3 separate regions of the Homo sapiens genome follow, and all the other regions are linked to region 3. Evidence: promoter capture Hi-C in 16 types of primary human blood cells and fetal thymus (Javierre and others, 2016). All regions are on one chromosome and are shown on one strand. The core of a region is centred on a gene start or on the middle of the fragment in contact, and the rest is flanking DNA. Distances in the headings are between cores, read along the strand shown.

What was found. Contacts are between HindIII fragments. The CHiCAGO score rates a contact against its expected background, and 5 or more counts as called.
Region 1: a contact is called between a fragment that was not itself captured here and the fragment with the promoter of ZC2HC1A in region 3, in 2 of 17 cell types (total B cells and naive B cells). The highest score is 5.9, in total B cells.
Region 2: a contact is called between a fragment that was not itself captured here and the fragment with the promoter of ZC2HC1A in region 3, in 3 of 17 cell types (activated CD4 T cells, non-activated CD4 T cells and fetal thymus). The highest score is 7.2, in activated CD4 T cells.

The regions. Positions count from the first base shown.
Region 1 is chr8:78,842,908-78,847,078 of GRCh38, reverse strand. All of the region lies in intron 1 of MITA1 (metabolism induced tumor activator 1), which reads right to left. Among named protein-coding and RNA genes, the nearest start is that of LINC02605, 7.5 kb to the right of the region's middle. The HindIII fragment of the contact is 1,351 bases long and covers 1,143-2,493 here.
Region 2 is chr8:78,474,048-78,478,076 of GRCh38, reverse strand. The region is part of intron 2 of LOC105375911 (a long non-coding RNA gene); the gene reads left to right. Among named protein-coding and RNA genes, the nearest start is that of PKIA, 40 kb to the left of the region's middle. The HindIII fragment of the contact is 1,246 bases long and covers 765-2,010 here.
Region 3 is chr8:78,664,208-78,668,216 of GRCh38, reverse strand. It overlaps ZC2HC1A (zinc finger C2HC-type containing 1A), which reads right to left and starts at 2,128. Exons shown (of 9, transcript NM_016010.3): 1 at 2,053-2,128. The coding sequence starts at 2,068. It overlaps LOC105375911 (a long non-coding RNA gene), which reads left to right and starts at 2,238. Exons shown (of 4, transcript XR_007060972.1): 1 at 2,238-3,212. RefSeq lists enhancers at 1,975-2,024, 1,989-2,496, 2,497-3,005 and a silencer at 2,095-2,314. The HindIII fragment of the contact is 1,596 bases long and covers 1,118-2,713 here.

The sequences.
Region 1 (4,171 bases), core at 569-3,068, 180 kb before region 3:
AAAATCAAAGGCATACTCCTTAGTACCTTCAACGCAGGCCACACACAACCCACTCCCCTCTTCTCCTCCTAGCTCCCTCCACCAACCCACACACACTAGATCTCACACAACACACTAGAACTGAAATTTGGTGCATTCTTTCCTAGCAAATATATAGAGAAAAAATGCAGAAATAAAGCTTTGCATGGCCATAGCTCTTTTCCTACCTGCCCAGGTGCAGCATGACTGAATTTATATTTAAATTTGAAGGATGAATTAAAATGGCAGCCAGGTAAACAGGAGAAACCATGAATGATCTATCCATGTTATTTTAGGAACAAAAGCTGTCTTGTACAGTCTTTATTCAAAGATGAGTACAAGCAAAAAAAAAAAATGTTTTAAAAATATGGCAGAAAGCACAGCATGTGAAACATAGATTAGGCGTATTCTTTGCAAATAGATTTATTTCAGGAAAGAGGATAAAATTTTAAGGAGAAACTGTAGTGTCAAGGTAATTATAAAGCTGTACAATAATATAAGCTATCATATACAGATAATTCTCCATTTTTCAAGTTCCCAGGAAAGTTATTAACTCTGTGTAAAGTATTCAACCCTGTTCATATAAGTTTAAAAATCTGTTTGAAAGACATTTTTTTGTGGAAAAATATAAGTGGACCAAAATAAATCAATAATAAAAGAAAACTGACAGAGCTATTATAGAACAACAAAATGTTGTAGAAGAATTCTTTCAGATTTCAGGGAAGAGTTTACTTCTATGAGCTCAGAGGAAGAAGGAAGGCTTCACATGATTTTATACAAAATTCATGTAACCCCGAAGCAAAACTCAACCAAAACAACCTACAAATAATAAAACCCCAGACCCATTTCAACATAAATTTAACAGCAAAAATTAGTAATAAGATGTTAATATTTGTAATCCATTGCTGTACTGAAATTCTATTAATGACCAACTGATGTTCATTGCAGAACATAAAAATGGTTTAATGCTAAAAGATTTGTTAATATAATTTCTCCCACAAATAGACTGAGGAAAAGAATCTGTAGTCACCATATGTTCTAAAAAGTCATCAAATGCCTATTCAACTTTTTTTAAAACTTCTTAATAAAGACCTTTAGCATATTTTTTAAAGAAAAAAAAAGCTTAAACTAACAGCCAGAAATTTTCTCTCTCACCATTACTAATAATATTCTTCTAGGAAAGCTAGCCAAAGGAATCACTGAAAAATGTTTTCTAAGAATATTAAGTATAAACAATCAAAAGGAGGCATTATATGATAAAGACTCAAAATTTGTTAAATTTTATTTGTAGACAAAATAGTTTGCTACATAAAGAAAACAAGAATATTGACTAAAAGTAACTTAGAGAGTTCAGCAAAGACAATCAGTTGAGAAATTAGTATTTTTAAAGGTAGCTTTTCTATAATAAGGAAACAACTAGTTAAAATAAAACAAAGATATTTCATTCACAATAGCAACTGTTATATGGTAGCCTTACAAACATCAAACATTACTAGGGAGACATAGGACTGGATGTGCTTTCTTCCTTCACTTTCTTATTGTTTAGATTTCTGTATTTTTTTAAAGTGTTAATTTTATTAACAAAAACAAAACATATTAATTATCAAAAACTAAAGACCTATTTTCTTTAAAAACTAAAAAACTAAATACATTAAGATAAACATCAAGATATTTTATCATTATATTTTAATAGATAAGACAATTTAATAAAGATTAACTTCATAGAATTACTTTTTAGTGCTAAAAGAGTCTTTAGAAGACATCTAACTCAAGCCTGCATTTTCAAATAAGAAGTTCAGGGCTTTACTGGTTACAGGATTTGTTTAAGGTTTCTAGTCAATGGCAAAACCATGTTTAAAACTCAGGACTTCTGACTTTGAGTCCACAGTTTCTTTATTTTTTCCTGACTTCTCTTACCCGTTCTACTCCTCATTATACTTACAAGAGTAATTCTTAGCTATTCATGATCTTTGTTCAATTTGACTTAGATTTTAGAGTATTAATGAAACACTCATTCAACTCACACTAATACGTTGAACTTGGAATCAAGATCGGTCAGTGGCTGTTTAGGGATTCGGTGGAGCTTGGCACTGCAAATTCTTGCATTTAGCTTCGCTCATCTGGTACTGACTATTCCGCTACAGCCATAAGGCATTTATTTTCTGCTAAGTTGATATAAGTAAAAATGGGAAAATGCTCCACTTTCTGGGGGCTCCTCTAGCCCTCACTTTCTTTCCTGTTCACCAAAGAACAGAAATATGTAAAGAAGACATTTCCTACACATTCACAAAAGTATATATCCTTCTTGCCCATTCATTAAATATCCAGAATAAAAGGTCTTTATGGCCAGATGCTATCTATTGCTTATTTTAAAATGGTTACATTAACTTATAATCATGTTTCCATAATTCCAATCCACAAACTTGATTCAGAGATAACAGTTCCTTCTTTTAAATCTAGTTATATATCCAAGCTTAGCCAATCATAACCTCCATGGACAGCATTAATTTTTAATATAATAACTAATAACAGTAAGTTACAAAGTGTGAACAACTGGAGACAAGGATGGTATATAAATCACAGGAGTGCAAGCAGCTCAGTTTAGGCAGGGAAAGAGACAGAGGTTCTGGCTGAACTCCTTGGGAAGCAGAGGCAGAAGAGGAGAGAGACTAAGAGCAGAACTCTACTAATTTTTGACCAGCCTGGAAGTACTGAACTACCCTGAGCAACAATGGTCAGAAGGACACCCGTCATGCAGCCCCACCTCTACATTACTTGCATGTGCTGATTATCTAATCCATTCTCTGGATGACTATTTTCATAAATGTCTTTCTCCCTCCTCATGCTCAACACCTCTTCTATTGTCACTCTCACCCAATGGCTCTGCTTTCTACTTTGTTCAAAAAAATATATATAAATAAACTGAAGCAACAGAAGACACTCTAACAAGCTCTCATCATTATATTTGCACCTAGTAACTACCTTCACTCTGTTTTCCTTTGTTATAGATAAACTGCCTGCATTCTTACCCAAGGGCAACTCCTCAATTATTCACTATGTTGCCTTAGGTTACGGTTAACCTATTCAAGGAACCAGCTCCCCAAATCTCTCTTCTTTCTCCTGCAACATCAATTTCCCCATCTCTATATGTTATCATTTCCATCAGCATACAAGTGTACTGTTACTTCTACCATATGAAACACTTTTTTCTTTCTTTCTTTCTTTCTTTCTTTCTTTTTTTTTTTTGAGGTGGAGTTTCACTGTTTTTGCCCAGGCTGTAGTGCAATGACACGAACTTGGCTCACTGCAACCTCCATCTCCCAGGTTCAAGTGATTCTCTTGCCTCGGGCTCCCGAGTAGCTGGGATTACAGGTGCACGCCACCAGGCCCAGCTAATTTTGTATTTTTAGTAGAGATGGGGTTTCACCATGTTGGCCAGGCTCATCTCGAACTCCTGACCTCTGGTGATCCGCCCTCCTTGGCCTCCCAAAGTGCTAGGATCACAGGCGTGAGCCACCTTGCCCAGCTGAAACTAATTTTTTAAATGAAACACATTCATTTCTCTGCTCCTTGTACCTTCATATCCTCCCTTTCTCCTACTCCTGTCACTCTGCTGAACCATGGCTAGATCAAAGTCTTCAGTGACCTCCATATTGCTAAACCACTGGCAGGTTCTTAGCTTTCACCTTATTTGATTACCTAGAAACATTTAAAATGGCTCATTACTTGGCTTTCAAGACAAGCTCCTTATTTTCTTCCTCTCCTACTGGTTATTTCTATTCAGTTTCCGGTGTAAGCCCTTCCTCTTCTCCTAGACCTTTTAATGCCCAAGTGCGCCACAGCTCGGTCCTTTAGCTTCTCCTCTAATTACTTTCACTGCATTGGTCATTTTATCCTGACTCATAGTTTTCAACATCACCCAGTCACAGACAACCTTCAAATTTCTATCTGTAGCTCACAATTCTCCTCTGAATGCCACATCCATATACCTGAAGGTCTAAAATGACACCTACACGTTGGATGAACATATCCAAACAAACATTTTCTTCTCTCCCAAATGCCGCTCCCCTTTCTCATCTCCGTTAATAAAATTATCATCACTCAGGTGCTGACATATAAAACCTTGGACTAATCCTTGACTCCCCCTTGTTCT
Region 2 (4,029 bases), core at 138-2,637, 190 kb after region 3:
AGGTGTTTATTCCTGTGTATTGCCTGGAAGCCCTGAATAGTTCAGGTGATTTAAGAAAAGGACAAAATTATATATTGACTAGGAAAAAGGAGGCTGTTTTCCCCTAGCAAGTGGAAAAGTATCTCAGAAAGTTAAAATCTTGTGGCACAGGATTCTTAGATATATCTGCCAAGTTTATTACCATATTAAGCCTCTTGGTCCTACTTTCTGTCAGGATTCTGATTTTATTACAGGGAAACTTTTGCGACTATATTATTTATTTCTGTTATTTAAGCCAAGATTTAGTGGTTTGCGTAATCTGAAAAGTGCTTCGTCATGGATATCAATGCATATGAGTGTTGTTGACTTGAACATTTACCTTAATCATTGCACATCAAATTCAACTAAAATATTTTTATAAAATACTCATATCCAGACTCTACCTACAGATATTTTAAATCAATTGTTGAAGAGTAAGGCCTGAACATGGGCATTTTTTGAAAGATTCTTAGAGATTCTGATGTGCAACCAAGATCATGAAGTTCTAATCTACTTTATGAAATTAATATGCTACTAGCATTCTGAAGAAGCATATCTGAATATGTAAAGAAATAACATAAACTTAAAGAAAATACATTGGGGTAGGCAAGTCCTTAAACATATAAACCATTGCCTTGAATTTAAAAATGTTTTTTCAAAACATTTTTAGCAAATATCCTTTTCCATCTCTTCTTTTTAGATTGGCAATCATAAGGATAATTTGCTTCTGGATCAACATGGAAGCTTTAAACATATAAATAAAGCAGGGATATTCTAATATTGGTATTATATGTTGTTTCTAATTAAGTATTGTTTCAAATGGCAAGAATTATTAGGAGGAACTATTGGATGGAGAACACTTTAAATTGATAAGGATTGACACTGATAACTTTTGATGTTTAAGATCATGGAAAATGGAAGAAAAACTCAAATCCCTCTTGCTACTACATTATTTGTTTGCTTAAAACTAAAAATGTGTTGTGATTAAGTCCTTTTGGGCAGTTTTTAAAGACAAGTTGGTATTTTTAGGGGATGATAATGTGAATTGCTAAAGTATGCCAGTCATAACGGTTCTTTCTTTGATGATATAAATACTTAGTATTTTTATTTCTTTGACAGCTTGTTGCATATGTAAAAGGGATGGAACTATACATTTCACTATATACTGGGTATTTTACATATTTATTTAATATTTATATCAGATCTGTGAGGTAATTTATGCTCTTTTCCATATTAGTTTCCCAATATAAAATCATGCTAACAATATCATTTGCCTCATAGGATTATTCAGATAATTAAATAATTTAATACTTATAGAGTCATTGAAAAAACTATTAGTGAATGCTATATAGTAAAAAACTATAGTAAATGCTCAAAAATTATCATGATGGTTGTGATTATTATAATTATGAAGTTAGTATTGATAGTCTCCATTCACAGATAACAGAGTCTCTGAGTATAAGTCAGCCAAAGTCACATATGTCTGAAATAGTAGAACAAGATTTAAACCCAGGCCCAGCTAATCCAAAGTCTTTGTTTTTTCCAATTATTATAGACTGAATGTTTGTGTCCCTTCAAAATTTGTATGTTGAAACCCTAATCCCCAATGTAATGGTATTTGGAGATGGGCCCTTTGGAAAGTAATTAGGATTAAACAAGATCACGAAGGTCAGGCTTTTATGATGGTGTTAGTGCCCTTATGAAAATAAACCAGGAAAGGCCATTTGAGCACATAGAAAGAAGCTGGCCATCTGCAAGCCAGGAAGAGAATCTGCAAGCCAGAATCTAACTAAGTTGGGCACACTGATCTTGCACTTCCAACCTCCAGATCCTGAGAAGATAAATTTCTGTTGTTTAAGTCACTCAACCTATGGAATTTTGTTATGGCAGCCAAATCAGACAAATATACCCATACTCCAGAACGCCCTTTCATTTCATTAATTGAGCTGGTTATCAGGTAACCCAGTGAAGCCTTGAAAGATGAACAAAGCTTTGGCAAGTAGATGAGGTTTTGTTTGCGGGTACAGGGTAGGATAATAAGGGCAGAGGAAATATGTGTAGAAGATAGATATTGGAGTCATGATTATTCTAGCATGCATGGAGGACTTCCAGTAGCTAGAGTATTCCAAAAAAAAAAAAAAACATTTCTCTTAATTTAATTTAATAAATAACTATTCTCTACTATATGCCTGCTATTCTTGCATTTGCCATACAGAATATAGAAAAATTGAATATCTTCCTTTTCTCTAATAAATTTGTATAATTATATAGCAATATGAATAAAATAAGTGCTACACAAATTTATAAAACAGAATTATGCATCATGGTTAAAATAGGATAATAAAATTTAAGAGGCAATACTTAAGCTGAGCCTTGAAGGAGGGAAAAATGACATATTAATAGTAATTAAATAGAGAGAAATGGTTTCTTTGGTTAAAAGTAAATAGAGACCGTGAAGTTTTACTTAGAAAAAAAGTACTTTTGTTCTGCTAAAGCTGTCTTTAAGAAGCCATATTAAATGAAATAGATTCTTGTTAATCTGTCCCTTGGAAAGGAAAGTTAGAAGAAATGGCTGACTTACTTTTAAGATGTAGAGAGTGTCCAGAGGTGACCTATACCTGGTATGACCTTTAGATTCCAGATTATGCTGTCATTAAAGTGGGAACAGCAGTTAGAGCCATCTGTTTAGTGACATTAAGGGCTAAACCTAATGAGCATTTATTTTGTATTTTTTCATTAACTTCAAATATAGTGATAGGCATTGTTCTTTATATATATATAATGTATATATATTATCTATATATAAGTATATATATTAAATGAAGTATGACTTCTAGGTGTTAAGATGTCTGATGAAAATAATTTCATTTAAAATTTATCATCACCGTATTTATAATTTGTTCCTAATATTATAGTGATGATAGTATGTGCTTTGCTAAACAGACATTTTTCTCAGTTCTGTTATGCATTATTTAGGTTAAAAAGAAGGCATGAATTTTGGTCTAGACAACCATATTGAATATTTTATTCATTTTTTGTTTCCTCAATTTTCAGATTTTGAAACTGAAAATTCAAAATTGATCAGAGTTCTATTTCAAAAATATACATAGGTGTGTAGTTATAGTTAAACAATCCTAAAATTCATGTTGTACATAATACTTTGAATTTTGAAAAAGAAAATGAGAAAGATAATAAAATATATTAGGCTCTAAGGAAATAGTGATGTTCCTAAATGTATAGTTATTCATTCCAACTTTATGTTATTCCTTTTTAGCCTAACCAGTTTCAAGTGATACTTTTCATTTCATGGGTTTCCAGTGTTATTTCTTTTTTAGTTAACTTTAAAAAATGACTTTTTTTTTTTTTTGAGATGGAGTTTCGCTGTTGTTGCCCAAGCTGGAGTGCAATGGAGCAAGCTCAGCTAATTTCAACCTCCTTCTCCTGGGTTCAAGCGATTCTCCTGCCTCAGCCTCCCGAGTAGCTGGGATTACAGGCACGTGCCATCATGCCTAGCTAATTCTTTGTATTTTTAGTAGAAATGGGGTTTCACCATGTTAGCTAGGCTGGTCTCGAGCTCCTGACCTCAGATGATTCGCCTGCCTCGGCCTCCCAAAGTGCAGGGATTACAGATGTAAGCCACCACGCCCGGCCTAAAAGTGACTTCTTAGCTGATTTGTATCCATGTTGCCTAGGCAAATCCTAGAACTATGTTTTTCCTCTTGCCTATACTGTCAAGTGCCCAAATTAAAACTATGTCAAATGCTATTTCATCCAGAAAGTCCACAATTAAGGATAGAATATTAGGGGGTGTTGTGTATACTTTCTCTCACAGAGATGATTCATATTATTCTCTGTTTATAGATGAACACCTTGTGAAATATAAGAGATAATCAGACAAAAATATATATATATATATATATATATATATATATATATATATATATATATATATATCACTCTGGGATTTATTACTTCAGACTAAATATACTGAGAATTTTATTGTCCTTGCCT
Region 3 (4,009 bases), core at 879-3,378:
AGACTCAGAGTTTGATATTTGCAAGGTGTGATCTCTTAGGGGAGGGAGAGGGGAGAAGGAGGAAGGAGAGAAAGGCACCATCCTAACTTCAACAGAAAATTCTCAAGAGCTTTTATTAGATTGAACTGCTTGAAATTACCAGAATTCAACTGTTTTGCCCTACATAATTTAGGGCAACTTCACATATTTCAACTCAGTTTATCACAATTAAACACATTATAGTTAATGATAGCATCTTATTTTGTAAAAAAAAAAAATCTAAAAGTAAAGGGCAAGCACTATTAACATCATAAGCTGGGCCCTATAACATCATAAGCTGGACCCATAAAATATGCCTATAAATACAGAATCCTACCTTTGTCCACCTATGCAACTGAGTGTCATAATAGGTTTCCATTATATTTTAAAAACATTCGTAGTAAGGTTTCAATAGTAATATCTTAGCACTGTTAAAATGTAAGGTCCACTAAAATGTAGGTTCGATGAGAGTAAAGCTTTATCATTTTTATTCTTTGCTGCAACCTAGAACCTAAAAAGATGCCCATAATAGACATTTATTTAACAACAAATATTTATTGAGTACCTACTTTGTGTCAGACATTGTTTTAGGTGCCTAGGATACATAAGTGAAAAATCAGATGATGATCTTTGTCTTAATAACAAATGTTGAATAAAATAATAAAAATCTGCAAACTGTTCAAAACACTTTATAGATAATATGTAATAAAACCTTATCATATTATATATGATAATCTCATGAGAATTCCATAACCCATGCTTTAATCCCACCAAGATACAAAAGTATCTTGAAAGTAAAATATACTGTACTATCATTACAATTCCTTATTTCATGGAAACTTGAATTATCTTCCAAAAACACATAAGCAAAAAACAAGACCTTCATTAGGCCATAGCATACTGCAGCTGTCCACAAACGGAAAATTATCAGAATCATTTATCAGAGCAAAAGCACGAAATAAACTTCTACTCATGTTATTACATCTGCTTTTTGGTGAATAGGTGACTGAAAAAGTTACCGGCTACCACTTTGCACTTCATCACACAATGTAGAATATTTTACTCCCTGGCATGCAACAATACACAAGACTCAAAAGCTTCTGCTCATTCTTAATTCCAACTGAATCCGTGTAAACTAGGAGACGGGGGAAAGGAGCTAAATCAAGACAATAGGATCTTTCAATTCTGAAGGTTTGTTCTTCATCATAACAAATTAAAAAATCTTGAAACTGTTGTTGCCAATGCTAGTTATTGTGGTTTTTGTCCTTCCTTTGTTTTTAGGTGAATGCTTTCATTACACAGGATAAAATGGGTAAACAGAATAGAGAAAAAGTGAAAGAACTGGGAACAAAGCAAAATCTGGAGTCATGGTTACAGTACAAAGATAAACCCAAAGATAAGGAACCAATACAGGCTCTTCCTCACACAGCGGCCGTGAATAAGTCATCAAATCCTCCGGGTAATCTATTGTACCGGCTCTAAAGCTGGCCAGTGACACTTCCTTAGGAGATGCTCTGACATCCCTCCGACAGAAGATGCTGTCGAAATGTAAAAAGCCGGTTACCTAGGGAAATCGGCCAAGGAATGTCAGGAGCTCGAGGCTGGAGACACACCCCGGGGCTGCAGCACAAAGTGGCCTGTTGGTGTTAAGGCCGTGGACAATAATGGAGAGAGTCCAGTACAAGGAAAACAAAATCTGGCCAGAGACTGGGATCACTAAAAGGGCACTCAGGAGTCAAGCAAGATCAGAAAATGGTAGGAAGAGACGTGCAGGCGTCTTGCCAGGGGCAGGATCTGGCTCCGGGCGGGAAAGCCCAGTTGAAGACCGTCTGAGGCGGGGCAGCCTGGTAGCGTTAGCTCCACCGCATCGGGGACTGTCCGGTTCCCTTCGGCCCCAGCCTCCGGAGGCGCGGCGGGACGCGGCGAGGTCCGCCGCACCGAACCAGCCCTCGCCTTCCTGCTACTGGTGTCCAGGGTCCCCAGCTGTTTCGGGCCCGCTCTAGCCGTCCTGCCCTCATCCCTTCATCGCCTCACCTTCCAGTCCCTCCATCGCGCCACCTCCTCGAGCTCAGCGAGACTCCTTCAGCAGCGCCCGCCACCGCCCAGCTCTGGCTGTAGCAACCCAGCCGCACCTCCCACCCGCTAACATTCCGAGCTCCCATTGGTTCCGCAACTGCGGGGGCGGGGATCCGTGGGGGCGGGGCCGCGGCGGAGGCGAGGTTCCTGCGGTCTCCTCCTGGCTGCCACCCCTGTCCGTCTCTCCGGGTTACTCTCCAGGGAGCCGGGAGCCGCTTCAGGTTGCAATCTGCGATGCAACGGCGCCTTTGTTTGACTCCAGCCTTGTTTTGCCTCATACCTTATCCTCCTATTTAGAGTACCTCAGCACCTCATGGGCTCCGCTTCACCAGTTCCTCAATCAGTCAATGCCTCTGACTTCTAGCCGCCATCCCTCCCAGTGGATACTTTAAGCAGGCAAGCAAACCAAACAAACGCCCAGCACGCTTGCATGCAGCAATCTCCGTTTTCCGGTCTTTGGTCGCATGACTTGACCTCAGCGTATCCCCTACACTTGATCTTCACACACAGCTTCATAGGTTAAGACACTTTTTTTCCAGAGAAATCATACTTTCTATCTGCGATTGTGGAACTGCGATTGCTCTAAGCCCTTGAAAACAGTTTCCTCACCATGAAAGCTTGGGCCAAAAATTAGAAGTGAAACCCAGCCCTCCCTCTGTCTTCTACTCTTGGCCTACCTTGGCCCTATACTTTATCATCCATAAACCAAAACAGTCGCCTGGCCTGACAATGTTTGATCGGGGAAGTTTGAGTTGGGGAATTAACCTACAACCTGACAGAATGAGGCCCGCCCGTCTCTAACAGAGTTCAAAACCTCCTGAAGATGAAAGTAACTTCAAAACTAACTCAGACCATTTTAACGGTTTTGCTTACAATTACCAGAACTACATTTCTTTGAAAATTTGATTTAGCAATCGTAAACAAGCTGTACTGTTTGCTGACTATAGCGTATCTACTGGCAAGTTACCAGTATTAATGTGTTGTCCATAACAAACCTCGGATTAATGTTATTGTTAATCTGTTTAATTGAAGAGTTTAACTTCATATCTAACTTCATCTACTATGAAATCAGTTACCTTCAGGAAGCAGGATTCCTCCTACTCTCCACTCACATGAAGGTATGTTTAAACAAGCAAACACTTGAGGGGGCATCATCTCTTACTGAGAAGGTGCTCCAAGTGCATTTGAATGTGGTAGAGTCCATCTGTTGTGTGGAGCCATGTAAAGACCACTTCAACCATGCCTCAATGACTCCCTCCGCCCTTCCCTGGTTCCCCTGGCTCTTCTGCTTCTCTGAGATCCTGGGCCTCCTTGGCCAACCCATAGCCTTGCAGGCAATAAGCTACTCTAGACTGGGTGCTGCGGAAAGGTCCTTTTTCTTCCTTAGTGCTACTAAGGCAAAGGTAGAATTTTTGGTTGGGAGGGAAGGCCTTTTAAAAGAGCATTAAGGAGAAAAAAAAGCACACAGAAGAAAATACAAAAATAAGGAAGCCATTATTTTACAAATTACAAGTTCTTTCACTGAAGGCAAGACGAATATTGAGTTGGCTGATACCTTATTCGACATAAAATCTACAGTAACATTAAAAATAATAAAAATAGCATTAAAGAATAAATCATGTGAGGCATGTTTTAGGCCATTTTCATATATTCACAAATCTTCAAAAGAAATCTACAAAGTAGATACTACAATCTTCATTTATCAGAATTAAAATGTTCATTTTCTAGATGTCTCAGAGCAATTAATATTTTGTCAATATTTGTATTATTAGTGGATGGTAGAGCTTGGCTACACTCTTGTCTGTTAAATTCTAAAGCCTATGGTGATTTGATTGGGCTCCTCACTCCCTTTCCTTGCCTTGCCTTTTATTATAGCTGCCTCAAGTGTAAACCCAAGCGTTCAGACATGTTGTTT